Regions from separate parts of the Homo sapiens genome. Here region 1 is linked to region 2. The links are contacts of gene promoters, found by promoter capture Hi-C in blood cells and fetal thymus (Javierre and others, 2016). All regions are on one chromosome and are shown on one strand. The core of a region is centred on a gene start or on the middle of the fragment in contact, and the rest is flanking DNA. Distances in the headings are between cores, read along the strand shown. Region 1 holds the start of PCNP (PEST proteolytic signal containing nuclear protein). Region 2 holds the start of DCBLD2 (discoidin, CUB and LCCL domain containing 2).

Region 1 (7,353 bases), core at 2,165-4,664, 2.7 Mb before region 2:
GAAAGAGAGCAGGCCGGAGTTGTCCACCTCCTCAGTGAAAAGGGAGCAGCAAGCGTAATTAACTCCTGCGTGTAACTGAGAGGCCGGCACCGTCAGAAACTCAGCCTGCGGCCAGTTCCCGCGGCAACTACTCGGTGGCTCGCACTGTGTGTATGTTATGTCTCATGAGCGTCTCCGGTGTGTGTGTTTTGTGTGATGTGCGTCTCCGGTGTGGCGGTAGCGGCTCCTGCACCGCCGCTCCTGGTCCCACCCCGAGTTCGGTCTCCCTTTCTGGCGCCCATCTCCCTTCTCCTCGGAATCAGGGCCTCCGCTGGGGCCAGGAGGTGACGAACAGTGGCCGGCTCTCCCCAGGCAAGGAGGCGATGTAGGCCCGGAGCCCAGAGGGCCGCATCGGGCGTGCCCGAGGCAGGTCTGGGCCCAACACCTGGCCGGGTGAGGTCCAGATCCGCCCATTCTCGCCCCACCCCACTCCCCCCACCCTGGGAGCTCAAAGAAAGGCCCGGAGCATCCCACGCTGCCCACGACGCTGGGGTTGTGTTCACCTCCGGCGGCTCCAGCTCGCTGCGACTTTTCAGGCTTCTCGTCTCCCGCCTTCCCGTCCGCCATTTTCCCCGCCGCGGCCTCCCCTGCAGCCACGCCAAGGACGTCACGACCCCGCCCAACAACCATCGAGTTTTTGGGGCCAGCCGGCGTGGTGGCAGCCTAGAGCGGTCCCGAGGAATGAAAAGAGGCCGCCTTCGGAAGCGGAAGTGGATGTGATGTCATCGAGTAGCCGCCTCGGAAGGAAGAGCTGGGAAGGTTGGGCGGTCTAAGAGTGCTGGCTAGGCACTTTATTAGAGGGCAGTCAGGTCTTCATGGTCTAGCGACAGGTCCGGAGAAGTGAGGGGAAATGGAGCATCTCCCTGGAAACGCTGGGATCTTAGAAGGTTTCTGCATACCCAGATGTGGTTGCAGCTGAGGCTGAGAGTGTCTTCCGTTCCGGCCTTGCTGGATAACGCATGCCTGCCAACTCTATGTAAACAAAAAGCCTGCATTCTTTTTCCCTAAAGGGGAAATCAGTGTTTATCTAGCGCCCCCTAGCTTCAGACGCCTTTCATACACTCGTTTAATCACGGCGATTGTCCAAATATAGAATTCTCCTCTCAATTACCTGTAAGAGTTGAGGTCAGAGAGAGTAATTTGTCTAAGTCACGTAGCCAACTGTAAAGTTACTTTTTGTATAGTCTGCTTCTACCAAGTTGAGAAACTACTATGTCAAGTTAAGACTGCAGTAATTTCTGCCTTAATAAGAAACCTTTAGTGGATTCCTACAGTCTGCATTCTGAAGTCCGTGAGTTACATTAGGCCCTAGCCTACCTTTTCGGCTTCATCTTCCCCCTTTCTCAGTATTTATCCAGCCCTCCTAGCCAAATGGGGTCTATTACTTGCTTAGGGAACTGGAGTTTCTGGGTTTGTCTTACCATATATAGTTAGAGAAAGTCTTAGGAGTCAGAACTTGGATTTGAATCTGTTTTGCCCTTTCCTGCTTGAGTAACCTTGAGACTTGCTTACTGCCTACAGAGCTACCTTTTCTTCTCTATAAAAGAGCAATAATAATAGTACCTCCTCAAAGAGTGGTAATAGGGATCAAATGAGATCATCTTTGTATACCATTATTTGGTCACTTCATACTTCCCTCAGTTTGTGTGTGTGTGTGTGTGTGTGTGTGTTTTAAGTGTTGTCTCTCTGAATGGCTCAAAAGTTCCTTGACAACAGAGACCAGTTTTTAAAAACTGTGTACTGTGCGTTTCATATATGAATATAAAAAGTGTTCAATATTTGCGGATGGATTACTTCTCGGGCTTCAAGTCCAGGGAGTGGAGAAAGAATGAAGAAATTATCAAAGTGTGTTTCCCATGACAGAAGCAGGGCAGTGTGGTGGTGATTTTGTGATCTAGGTTGAAGTCCCTGATCCATCATTTATCATATATGTAAAAGTAACCAGCAAACTATCTTACAGGTACTTAATTCATGTTTGTTTCATTTTCCTTGTGATCTTTTCAAGGTAATCATTGAGACTCTCGTTTCTATCATTTTAAAAATGGAGATATACACGAAGATTTTTATTTGAGATTATGTATTTACAGATGCTTGTAATTTTTTATGGGGGGTGGAATGGAGTCTCTCATTCTGTCACCCAGGCTGGAGTGCAATGGCATGGTCTTGGCTCACTGCAACCTCCGCCTCCTGGGTTCAAGCGATTCTCCTGCCTCAGCCTCTCGAGTAGCTGGGACAACAGGCGCGTGCCACCACACCCGGCTAATGTTTGTATTTTTAGTAGAGACGGGGTTTCACTATGTTGGCCAGGCTGGTCTCGAACTCCTGACTTTGTGATCCGCCCACCTTAGCCTCCCTAAGTGCTGGGATTACAGGCGTGAGCCACCGTGCCCGGCCGATGCTTGTAATTTTTAAGTGAAGAAGATAAAGCTCAGAGAAGTCACATACCTATTTAGGAGCGGATCCAGTTCCCATATACCACACTGCAGAAGTTAAGGATGCATGTGCAGGACTAGGTATGAAAGGAAAAAAACGAAACAAAAAAAGGATGAAGATAGTAATCCATTCACCTTTCAGTTCTGTGAGTTTCATGAGGTGTGCCTGTCTTGTTCACCACTGTTTCCCCAGCACCTGGATTATACTAGTCTGGATAAATATCTATTGAAGAAATTAATGCAAGCTTCAGTAACCTCCTACAAACGGGTTAGGAAATGGAAAGGTAGTGTAGTATGAAGGGGTGGAAAGGGGGTGATCACTTTCCTCCCCATCAAAAGAGTCATGACAACATGCTTGTTAATAAAAGACAGGTTAACAAGAGAAAATTAATGTGCATAAGCATGGGAATGATACAACAAAATAAGAAAACTAAAAAAAGGGTCAGATGGTTGAAGTTTAATACTTTTCATAGGGGAGAGAGAGGTGGGGGGGCTACAGGCAATTTTAGAGGAGTAGTAAATGATTTTAGGAGAGATTAATGCAGAAATTCACTTGTAAATTATTCTCTTTGTAAACCAAGTGAAACTAGAGAACCAATAATAATTCGAAGGCCAGTCGTGGTGACTCACTCCCATAATCCCAGCTACTAGGGAGGCTGAGATAGAAGGATCACTTGAGCCCCGGAGGCAAGGTTGCAGTGAGCCAAGATCTCGCCACTGCACTCCAACCTGGGTGACAGAGTGAGACCCTGTCTCAAAAACAAAAAACAGTAGTTTGAGGCAAAGTTTGGGCTCTAAGTGTGGTGGTTAATTTTCAGTCTCTTCCTCTATGATGTGAGTTTTGTTTTTTTATGAGACCAGGTCGCACTGTGTTGCCCAGGCTGGAGTGTGGTGGCTATTCACAGGCATGATGATAGCACACTACAGCCTCAAACTCCTGGCCTCAAGAATCCTCCCATCTGAGACTCACAGGTAGCTGGGACTACATGTGTGCACCACTGTATCTGGCTTTGTGATATGTTTTAATTTCTTCTGGTTAATGAAATTTCAGGGAGGAAGCAGATAGAAAGCAATTGTGTTCTTTGATGTGTGTGGTTTCTAGGTAGATAAGAAACTTCAAAGAACAGTCTTATCCCGTGTTTTGGGGGAGGCAGAGGATTGAGAGGCAGGAGGTGGGGTGGGGAGATCAGAGAAACCTTGCGGCTGCTTCTCTAGTTCAGCATGTCAAAGCACCAAATTTTGGGGTACCGTTTTCTGACAATGAATAGGCAATGTAGTCCAAGGCAAAGAGCATTAGTTTTGCACCACACAAAAACTCGACTTAAATTCTAATTCTGCATTTTGCTAATTCTGTGAGTTTGTACTGGATAACAATGTTATGGAATATGTTATAACTATACAAATGGAATAATACATATAGGGTTACTGAGGGCATTGGGATAATAAAGGTTAAATCTATAATATGCTGCCTGGCCATGGTGAGAGCTTGCTTCATAGTAGCTATGGATTATAACCTCTAGTGAGCTATTTAAGTGGTTTAAAAGGCTGGAAATGGAAGGTAATATGAGCAATTATTATTTTAATTTAGATGTGTAATTTGTGAGGCGACAACTATAATATCTAACATTTATTCAAGCTTACTATACACCAAGCATTGTTGCAGGTATTCTACATGAAATTCAGTACATTAAATCATTACAACCCTGTGAATTAAGTGCTACTGTTACTCCCATTTTTATGGAAGAGGGAATTTGGGCACGGAAAAGATAAGTAAGAAGTGGAGCTGAACTTGAAATTCAGGCCAAGAGCTACCAAAAAAAAAAAAAAAAAAATTAGAGTGGAGAAGAAAAGTGGCTAATCTTGATTTCACTAACCTTAAGTAGGTTCTTTTTTTTGTTTTGTTTTTGTTTTTGTTTTGAGACAGGATCTCGTTCTGTTGCCCAGGTTAGAGTACAGTGGCTCATAGCTCACTGCAGCCTTGAACTCCTGGGCTGAAGTGATCCTCCTGCCTTAGCCTCCCAAAATTCTCGGATTACAGGCATGAGCCATTAAGTAGGTTCTTAATGTAGCCTTATAATTCTATTACATGTCCTCAGACTATTCTCAATTTCAGTGTACATCAGAATCACCTGAAGGACATGTTAAAACAGATTGCTGGGCCCCATTGCCAGTTTCTGATTCAGTTGACTCAATGGCTGGAGCCCTAAAATTTGCATTTCTAACTAGTTCCCAAGTAATGCTGATGCTGCTCGTTGGGGAACCACACTTTGAGAACCACTGCCCTAATTCACTCACTTTCCTATACTATTTCATGTTTTGTTGGCTCTCCAAAAATGTCCATTACGTCCTCCCACTTGGGATGATTTTGCTTTTTATTTTCAGTGAGAAAATAATAGTAATCAAACAGAACTTCTATATATTCTCAACCATATCTGAGGTGTGGTACCTGCATTTATACCTATATACTATGTGTTCTGTTACTTATGAAGTGGAGCCTGTCCTTGTTTACACACATCACTATTGTTCCATCCGATTTTTCTTTCTACTATTGAAACATTCCCAACATCATACATACATGCTTTTATGTCTCCTATCTTAGTAAAAGACTCTTCTCTTGATCTCATATCTTCCTGTAGCTCCTCATTCCTATTTTCCTTCATATAGAAACTTTGAAAAGATTGTTCATACTCTGTCTCCTATATCTCTGTCCATTCTTTTTTTTATCTTTTGAGACAGGGTCTTGCTCTGTTACCCAACCTGGAATGCAATGACATGATCTTGGCTCACTGCAACCTCCACATCACACGCTCAAACGATCCTCCTGGCTTAGCCCGCCAAGTAGCTGGGACTAAAGGTGAACACCACCATCCCTGGCTAAGTTTTGTAGAGACAGGGTTTCACAATGTTGCCCAGGCTGGTCTCAAACTCCTGGACTCAAGGGATCCACCTGCCTTGGCCTCCCAAAGTACTGGGAGTACAGGTATGAGCCACCACACCTAGTCCCGTCCCTTCTTTTCGTTTTTGTTTTTTTTGAGACGGAGTCTTGCTCTGTCACTCAGGCTGGAGTATAGTGGCACAGTCTCGGCTCACTGCAACCCCCGCCTCCTGGCTTCAAGCAGTTCTTCTGTCTCAGTCTCCTGAGTAGCTGGGATTACAGGCCTGTGCCACAACACCTGGCTAATTTTAATTTTTGTATTTTTAGTAGAGCTGGGGTTTCACCATGTTGGCCAGGCTGGTCTCAAACTCCTGACCTTTGAGCCACCGTGCTCCGCCTGTCCATTTCCTTTTTTTTTTTTTTTTTTTTGAGGAGTTTTGCTCTTATTGCCTAGGCTGGAGTGCAATGGTGTGATCTCGGCTCACCGCAACCTCCACCTCCAGGGTTCAAGCGATTCTCCTGCCTCAGCCTCCCAAGTAGCTGGGATTACAGACATGCACCACCATGCCCGGCTAATTTTTTTTGTATTTTTAGTAGAGATGGTGTTTCTCCATGTTCGTCAGGGTAGTCTCGAACTTCCGACCTCAGGTGATCTGCCTGCCTCGGCCTCCCAAAGTGCTGGGATTACAGGCCTGAGCCACCACACCCGGCCTTGTCCATTCTCTTTTAAACCTACTCCAGTTGGCTTTCTTTTCAATCCTCTATTGAAATTGCTGTTGTCAAGATAATCAGCAATGTCCTCATTCCTACATTCAGTGGTCAGCTCTCAGACTTCATCTTACCTGATCTGCAGCATGAAACACTTTTTTTCATTTTGCCTCCAGGACATTTTCTCTCTTTTCTTACTGGTTGCTCTACCTCAGTCTTACTTGCTGGGTTCTTCTCATCTCTCACACCTCTAAATGTTGGAGTACCTTAGGGCTCAGACATCTGATATCTTTATCCACACAGACTCCCTAGATGGCCTCAACTAGTCTGGAGCATTTAACTAATTACATTATTAACATCTCCAGCCAGACCTTGTCTCTGAACTCCAGGCTCATATATCCAACTGACCACTTGATATCTCCACTTGGACATCTAATAGGCAACTGTAAAATGTCCCAAAGTTAACTTTGGATTACCTGCCCCCTCAAAGCTTCTGCATTTCGGTAAATAGTAACAAGTCCTTCCAGTTTCTCTAGTCAACAATCTTGAAGTCTTCCCTAAATTTTCTCTCTTACTAAACACATTCAGATCTGACTGTGTCTCACTACCTACTCTGTTACCACCCTCCTACAACCTACTATTATCTCTCACTTTTGTTACTGCAATAGCCTCCTAACTGGTCTCTCTCATAATCTATTCTCGACATAGCCAAAGTCATCATTTTAAACTGAATCCAATTTGGGGTGGGGTGGGGCAGGTGGGAGGAGAAGAAGACAAGAGGAAGATCCCCAAATGGGGCGGTGGTAGCAAGTGGGCAAGAAAAGACAACAAGAATCAGAGACAGAGGAAGAAAAGAAATCATCCAAGGAGGGGAGGGAAAAAAAAAATCACCCATCTGAGATCTATATCTGGGCTGGAGGAAAAAGTTTGTTACGTGTTTTCACAAAGAATAAATATACAAAACCATGGGGGTGGGGGGTGGAGAATGAGTCAGATCCTCTGATCCTCTGGTAAAAACCAAAGTTCTTACGGTGGCTTAAGATGCCTTACTTGACAGACCTAGCTACTCCTCTGACCTGATCTTCAGCTCTTTTTACTCATTTTGCTTCAGGCGCACCAGCCTTATTGGACCTTGAACCCTCTCTCAAGGGCTTCTGACACTTGTTCCTTTTGCTTGGAATTCCCTTCCCTCATATCTTCATAGCTTACTCTCACTTCAAGTCTGTGGAGATGTCACCTTGTCTGTCTTTGGGCAAATTAAGAAAGGAATACCTCCTTAGTGGATGCAGTCTTTTAAGC
Region 2 (6,900 bases), core at 415-2,914:
CTCCATCAACACCATTCCCTATTGAGCCTGTGACCCAGCCTATTTTGCCTCTGGCCTGAGATCACCTTTTTCACTTTAGTTTCTTATTCAAGACACTGGCATTTCAAACTGACGGGTTTTTTTGAACTCCGTTCACTGTGGTATTGTGGCACCAGTCCACACCTCTAACAGGGCACTAATAACAATAGGTTTGTTTACATGTCACCTCCTCCTCCAGAATGTAAGTTCTTCTCAGTAAACTTTTTATGCCCAATGCCCACAATGGCTTAGAGCATAATAGGGTTTCTTAGGCATTTAATAAATGTTAATTGAATAAATTTGGTTAAAGAGATTATTGTATAAGAAATATGCAGGGGAGTTGAAACATACGACCTCCAAAGTCCTTTCCAACTTAGACTTTCATTGAAGGATATCAGTCCCTTCCATGTTTTTGAATATCACATCTATGTATGACTATGTATACATATGTATATGTATACATGTATGGCTATGTATGACTCCCAGAGCCATAATTTCAAAGCTCTCAATCTGAGCTTTCGACTAAAATATCCATCTGCCTGTTACATAGCTTCACTTATTATCTAAGTTGGCATCTCAAATTCAATACGTCCAAAATTAACTTACTTTCCCACACAACTTGTTCCACCTTAGCAGTTTTTTGTATTTGCTAATGACACCATTGTCCTTTCAGGGACTGCTGTTAAAAACATCCTACATGGCCACTCTCTTCTAAAATAAATCACTGCGTAGACCTCTGCATTCCTCTTTCCTAAAATTCTTTTTGTCGTTCCATAGGCTTACAGTCTCCATCAAACTGCTTGTGACTCTAATTAGCACTTACTTCATTCTGACTTGCATGCTATATTTCCATCTCTGTTCCACATTTCAAGATTTCTGTAGATAGACAGCAGGTGCTCAACAACTCCTTGTAGAATGGCTGCATGAAGGTTGGGATGTTAGGTTTAAATTGCCTTTGCGGCACGGATCTTGTTTTACACTTTTTTGTCCCCCACCCCCCGCCATAAAAAGAGCAGAGAAAACAGGGAACACATATATTAAAAACTGAACACTGCATCTATTATTCTAACTCGGAGCTGTTGCAACAACTGGCGGCAGTTTTAACAAAACAAGCCACGCTCTGCCATTAAAAAAAAAAAAAAAGTCCCTTAGACTCAGCTCCCAGCTAAAACAACCCAGGATCCAGGTTTCCCACCCCCTTCCAGTGGTCTGATGTGCGTCGGAGGAGCGAGGAGAAAGGAGCAAGGAGCAAGCTGGGCCTGAGGAGCAGGGAGCGCGGGATGGGGGACGTCCCGGAAGTCACTGACGAGCTGGCTGCCGCCTCTGCGGGATCAGTTTGGGCTGAGGGCCCAACAATAACAGGCGCCCGGGCCGGGCGGGGGCCGCGGGGATCCGAAGCTGGAGGGCGGGACCTGGATTGGAGGAGGCGGGTGGGACGCCTCCAAAGGCCGAAGGGGATTGGAAGAGGGAGGTAAGGGGCGGTGGAGCTCGAGGAATGGGCCGGAGAACTAGCGGGTCGAGCGAGGAGCGAGCATGCTGATTGGGTTTCGCGGAAGGAGACGGACCAGAGCTGGCCGAGGATTGGCCGCGGTGCCTAGGGGGCGTGGCCGGCGCGCGCGAGAGGGAGCGCGAGGGAGCTGGCTGCGGGCCTGCCTGCCAGCTAGCCGGAGCCGCGGGTGAGCGCGGCGAGCGGCGACCCTGGTGAGGAGCGCGGCGCGGGAGGCACGTTCCTTAGCTCCGCCGCGGCCGTCCTCCGCGGCTCGAGGACTCCGCTTCCTTCCCTCCCCTCCCCTGCGCTCCGGCCTGGGGTCTCGGCGCGGGGAGCGGAGGGAAGGGACGAAGGAGGAGTAGGTGAAAGCGGGGTGAGGGGCGGAAGGGTCCCGGCGCGGGGTGAGGCGAGGGCTGCCTCTTGTTCTCCCGCCGCTGCCGCCGTCTCCTGGTCGGGTGCCGCGGCCAGAGGCGCGCGGGGCTGCCGAGGCACCCGCACTATGCAGGCAGACTGCCGGCCGCCGCGATGGCGAGCCGGGCGGTGGTGAGAGCCAGGCGCTGCCCGCAGTGTCCCCAAGTCCGGGCCGCGGCCGCCGCCCCCGCCTGGGCCGCGCTCCCCCTCTCCCGCTCCCTCCCTCCCTGCTCCAACTCCTCCTCCTTCTCCATGCCTCTGTTCCTCCTGCTCTTACTTGTCCTGCTCCTGCTGCTCGAGGACGCTGGAGCCCAGCAAGGTGAGTGGTCCCAGGGGAGTGAGCGGCGGGGGAACCTCCGTCGGGGCTGCGGGTCTCTTGGCCCCTGAACAAATCTGCAGACGCTGCAGGGAGGCGCGGTGCGCTTTCGTGCGTGGCCGGACCTGGCTGGGTACTCACGGGGTTGAGTTGCAAAGGCAAGGTCTTGCCCGTCTGTCCCCCAAGTTGGCGCGGCTTTACTTTTTGGCAAGGCCATTTATTTTTCTGAAAGGGGGACGTGAGACCCTGCTATGAAAGCCTCGTTGATATTAGGTCCTTCTGGGGAAAATTTTGGGGAGGAAAAAGAACCTTTGGAGGTAATGACCCCTAAAGTTAAGCTGCACGGATGGATGGACACTGTAGGAAGGCAGGTTAATTAAATAGCATCTTAAGCCTATTAAAGGTAAGTGGTGGTAATTATGATCCTTTGTGAAAGAGCCCGGGTTCTGAAGCGAATGGAATAGTTTCTGCTTATCTCTGAGTCTTGGATTCAGAACATGTTCTTTACAATCCATCATTGAGGCTGGTGGTCTAGACTGCCTTGGTCAAACACTGGGTCTGACCCAACGCTATGCTAATTTGCCCAAGTGAAGCTCTCCACATTAAAAAGGTAAGCCTTTCCAGAAAGTGACAAAACTTTTTTTTTTTTCCACCTACAATCCTTGAAAAACCTGTTCCAGAAACAGGCAAAACTGTTTATTAAATACTTATCATAATGGAAGGAGAATGCAGGGTGATTTCTTTTCCCCTTTAGTACTGTTTTCCCGTAGTGTACCACACTTTTTGAATCAGTTTGGCATCAGTTTTTGAAAAGATATTTCCATTGCATTTTCCATTTTATTGCAGTGGGAAGGATAAGGATTGGATTGTTACTTATTGCTAGGAAGAGAGTTTTTTAAAAAGAAAATTGTTCTCTGCCTTTAAGCCCAGCTTTATGTTGCTCTCATGGTTTTCAGTGAAGTATGGAATCATGGCCTGTCATTAAGAAGATGCCGAACCTTGACAGGCATGTGGAAATATAATCTCTGTAACTATAAGGAAAAAATGTATTTGGCAAACTGACCCCTTACATCTAGACACGTTTCTATATAGAGTAACTCAAAATTTAGATGCTTAGCATTTAGGTTTTAGTTAGATCGTCTTCTAAAATTACTGAACATCATCATCATTTAATATATTAAAGTGTGAAATCCTTCTTTCCACTGTAGAGATGTATTTCCCTCCTGGTAGGGGGGAAAACAGGCTTATATATGGCTAACACTTAGGGCTTACTTTGTGGCTGGAACAACTGGACTAAGTGGTTTGGGTTTATTAACTCCTTGAATCTTCACTACAATCAGCTGAGATAGTTATTGTTATCCCAGTTCAAACGTAAGGACATTGAGACACAAAGAATATAAGGTACCTTGATGCAGGAGGGCATATTACTCCATAGGCAGAGTACTCTGCTTTGCTTGTTTCTGGATCTGATAGTGTTTGTATCATGTTATTAAAAAAAATCTTGGAACAGTATAGAATCAGTTACATGTCTACCTTCCAAATGAGGGATTGCCTTGTTTTTAGAAAAGGCCAGTCTACCGGGCGCGGTGGCTCACACCTGTAATCCGAGCACTTTGGGAGGCTGAGGCGGGCAGATCACGAGGTCAGGAGATCGAGACCATCCTGACCAACATGGTGAAACCCCGTCTCTCCTAAAATACAAAAAATTAGCCGGGCATGGTGGCACATGCCTGTAGTCCCAGGTACTCAGGAGGCTGAGGCAGGGGAATCGCTTGAACCCGGGAGGCGGAGGTTGCAGCGATCGCGCCACTGCACTCCAGCCTGGCGACAGAGCGAGACTGTCTCAAAAAAAAAAAAAAAAAAAGAAAAAGAAATAGCCAGTCTAATCAGACAAGCAACATTACTTCATTTTTTAAGGTTTAATATAATTTTTTTTTACCAGAACATTTTAACAAATACATTTCTCTTTAACAGTGTCATCTTATGTAAACATCAACATAAATAGAAATGATTCTGATAATTAAAAGACTTTTTTTTTTTTTAGTTCTTCTAAATTGCTTGGGTAAATTTTGCTAAATCATTTAATATTTAATCTCTTTGTACCTCAGTTTTCTACATCATTAAGGTGAGCATGCATACCTATCTCATAGCTTAATATAAATGAAATGATAGTATGCAGGAATTTTGCAAAGGGAAAAGCTTAAAATAGCTATAAATGATTATTACTAATCTCGATCTTACTAAGTTGATAAATTAAGAGCTAATTAGGTATACATCATCTGAAAACTCACAATTATTTGAGATTTGAATTTTCTCATTTTTAAAAATTAAATTTTTTACTCAAAGGACCCTAAAGCAGCCCGTGGTGGAATTCCTTTTAAGCCAGTCTTCCCAGTCTAACAGATGTTCTTTAGGGTCTACTGATATTCCCTCACATAACCTGAAAAGAAGTCTGTTTAAAACACCTTTAGAATTTTTAATGGGATTTGTACATGTTGTAATGTTCAGCTACAAGGTAGAGTTTTTACTCTATAAGAAGTCTTAAGACTGGAAGGAAATAAACTGTTGACAGTTGTTGTCTTTTGGTGGTAAAATTGTGGGACATTTCTTTATACTTTTCTAAATTTTCTGTAATTCGCATATAGTCAGAATAAAAATTAAACTGCAAAAAAGGTTTCTTTGATAGATTTTTTTTCTTTATTTGACAACTGAAGGTAGAAATGCATCTAGTATGGAGAGGTAGAAATGTGCTTCAGTGTCTTTTTTCTTTCTGACATCATTTTGAAATAGCAGAATATATTACCTTCATTCCAATTAATGTCATACATAGCTATTCCTCAATAGATTTTCTGTTCACAATGACCTTTCTTTTTATTTGGCTCCGAATAAAATGTATCATTAGTTTGAAAACTTACCGACTTTTCACAACAGATGTATTTTAACCAGTTCTGTTTCACTTATAAATTTATAAATATATTCTGTTTACCTCTATTTATTATGTTGATGTTTCACATATGGCTTGTATTTGTGTAGAGTTCTAAGTTGGATATCAAGAAGTTGGTCTTCGAAATCTTTTTTATTGAAGACTTTTTTTCTGTAAAATGTACCTCTCAAAAAAATTAAATTGGTGAAACTTATGCTGGTAGCATATTTGCTATTGTATTAAATTTATTGGAAGTTGATGGTTTACTATGATTTTAGGTCTCTGGTTTCCATTATGACTGTAGGAATTTGGGTTACTTCATATCAGGAGCTCAGCTTCCTCATTTGTATCCTGGAAGGCTTGCCTACTTTCTTGGTTAGAATGTAATTTGAACATGGTAAAATATCAGGGAATTAATTCTTAAAAACCATTAAGCCTGATTTGTTTGGGCCTATTAATATATAACATGTTGTGAAGATATTAGTTTTTCTTTGCTAATTTAATCTGTGAAACAAATCAGGTTCATTCTTAAAAAGGATGTTTCAGTTATTTGAACATATTTGGAACCAATATGTGAAAAAGTTTATATTCTGTCAAGGAATGCCTTTATTTGCTTGTGATGCAGGGAAATATTTTTGAACAATATTTGTGAGTTGCCAGAAAATAAAAACTTATTTCTCTCTGCAAATAAACATTTGTAATTATTTTTCACATTGACATTAGGTTAATTTAGAAATTTCCATTGTCTTTTCTTTGTCTGATAAAACATTGGGGCTCTTATCCAGTTTTGTTCAGAAGCAAATAAATCAAAGCATCCTTTTCTGCTATATTTCTAATTAATTTTACAAAATGAAAATTAGAAGCAGCACACAATCCACACGTGTGAATGATCAGATTGAAACAGCACATTTTTGAAACTTGTAAATGAAAAATTGATTCTAAGATTGCAGGTAAATTATAGGTAGATTTCTCAGTGTTAGAAACAAAAAGAACATATTATTTTCCCTGGGGATAGTTGATAATTCCATTTGAACATCTGAGCCTCATTTTAAAGACAAACATGTAAAAATATCTTAAAATGGTGGAATTGGCATAAGTAAAATACCAGTAGTAGAATTAAAATGACAAATTAATTTCCAAAAGTTAATAGATCATGTATGTGGGAAAGGGCTAGATTTACATAGGAGTAGAATTTAAATTTAGGACTACACTTAGCAAAGTGACACTGGGAAGTGAAGCTCAGGTAGTAATGTTGGACATTAATTGAATGCATACAAGTAGACAGTTTCTGCTTCCACTTCTTGATATATTTGGAAGGATATGGAATGATGACCCAACAGTAGAAGGATGAGGAAAAGCTTCATAAAGATAGTGATATTTGCTAAGTGTGATTGTTGAAATATGAAGTGAGACAATTTGGCAATTTTTCTGATGTGGCTCCTGGATTCGGTTTTCTTTATAACAACCTTACGGCCATAGGACTTTGTATTTATTTTTAAATATTGTATGGATAACAATGATTATTACTCAAAACTAAAAACGTAGATGATTATCCACATTTCTGTCTTCTAATCCATCGACTTATAATTTTTAACTTTCCTTTCTATTACATATTCACATACCTGCATAATCTTTTGTAGTTGTAATTTTAATAGTGTGTTCATGTAAAATTAACTTATAGGCTAATTTAGCACACATAAGCATACCTACAAAATACAGTAAAACAAAAATTTCAAAATGCAA

The links. The method cuts DNA at HindIII sites, captures the fragments that hold promoters and counts their contacts. A CHiCAGO score of 5 or more calls a contact.
Region 1: a fragment that was not itself captured here is called in contact with the fragment with the promoter of DCBLD2 in region 2 in 1 of 17 cell types (fetal thymus); the score reaches 5.0 in fetal thymus.

The regions. Positions count from the first base shown.
Region 1 is chr3:101,567,469-101,574,821 of GRCh38, reverse strand. PCNP (PEST proteolytic signal containing nuclear protein) reads right to left here and starts at 642. Exons shown (of 5, transcript NM_020357.3): 1 at 543-642. The coding sequence starts at 606. RefSeq lists enhancers at 123-282, 303-462, 543-672, 773-1,042, 486-1,431. The HindIII fragment of the contact is 1,391 bases long and covers 2,719-4,109 here.
Region 2 is chr3:98,896,459-98,903,358 of GRCh38, reverse strand. DCBLD2 (discoidin, CUB and LCCL domain containing 2) reads left to right here and starts at 1,664. Exons shown (of 16, transcript NM_080927.4): 1 at 1,664-2,237. The coding sequence starts at 2,033. It overlaps LOC105374002 (a long non-coding RNA gene), which reads right to left and starts at 1,345. Exons shown (of 2, transcript NR_189121.1): 1 at 842-1,345. RefSeq lists silencers at 1,346-1,395, 1,536-2,225 and enhancers at 1,333-2,048, 2,049-2,765. The HindIII fragment of the contact is 5,361 bases long and covers 1-4,435 here.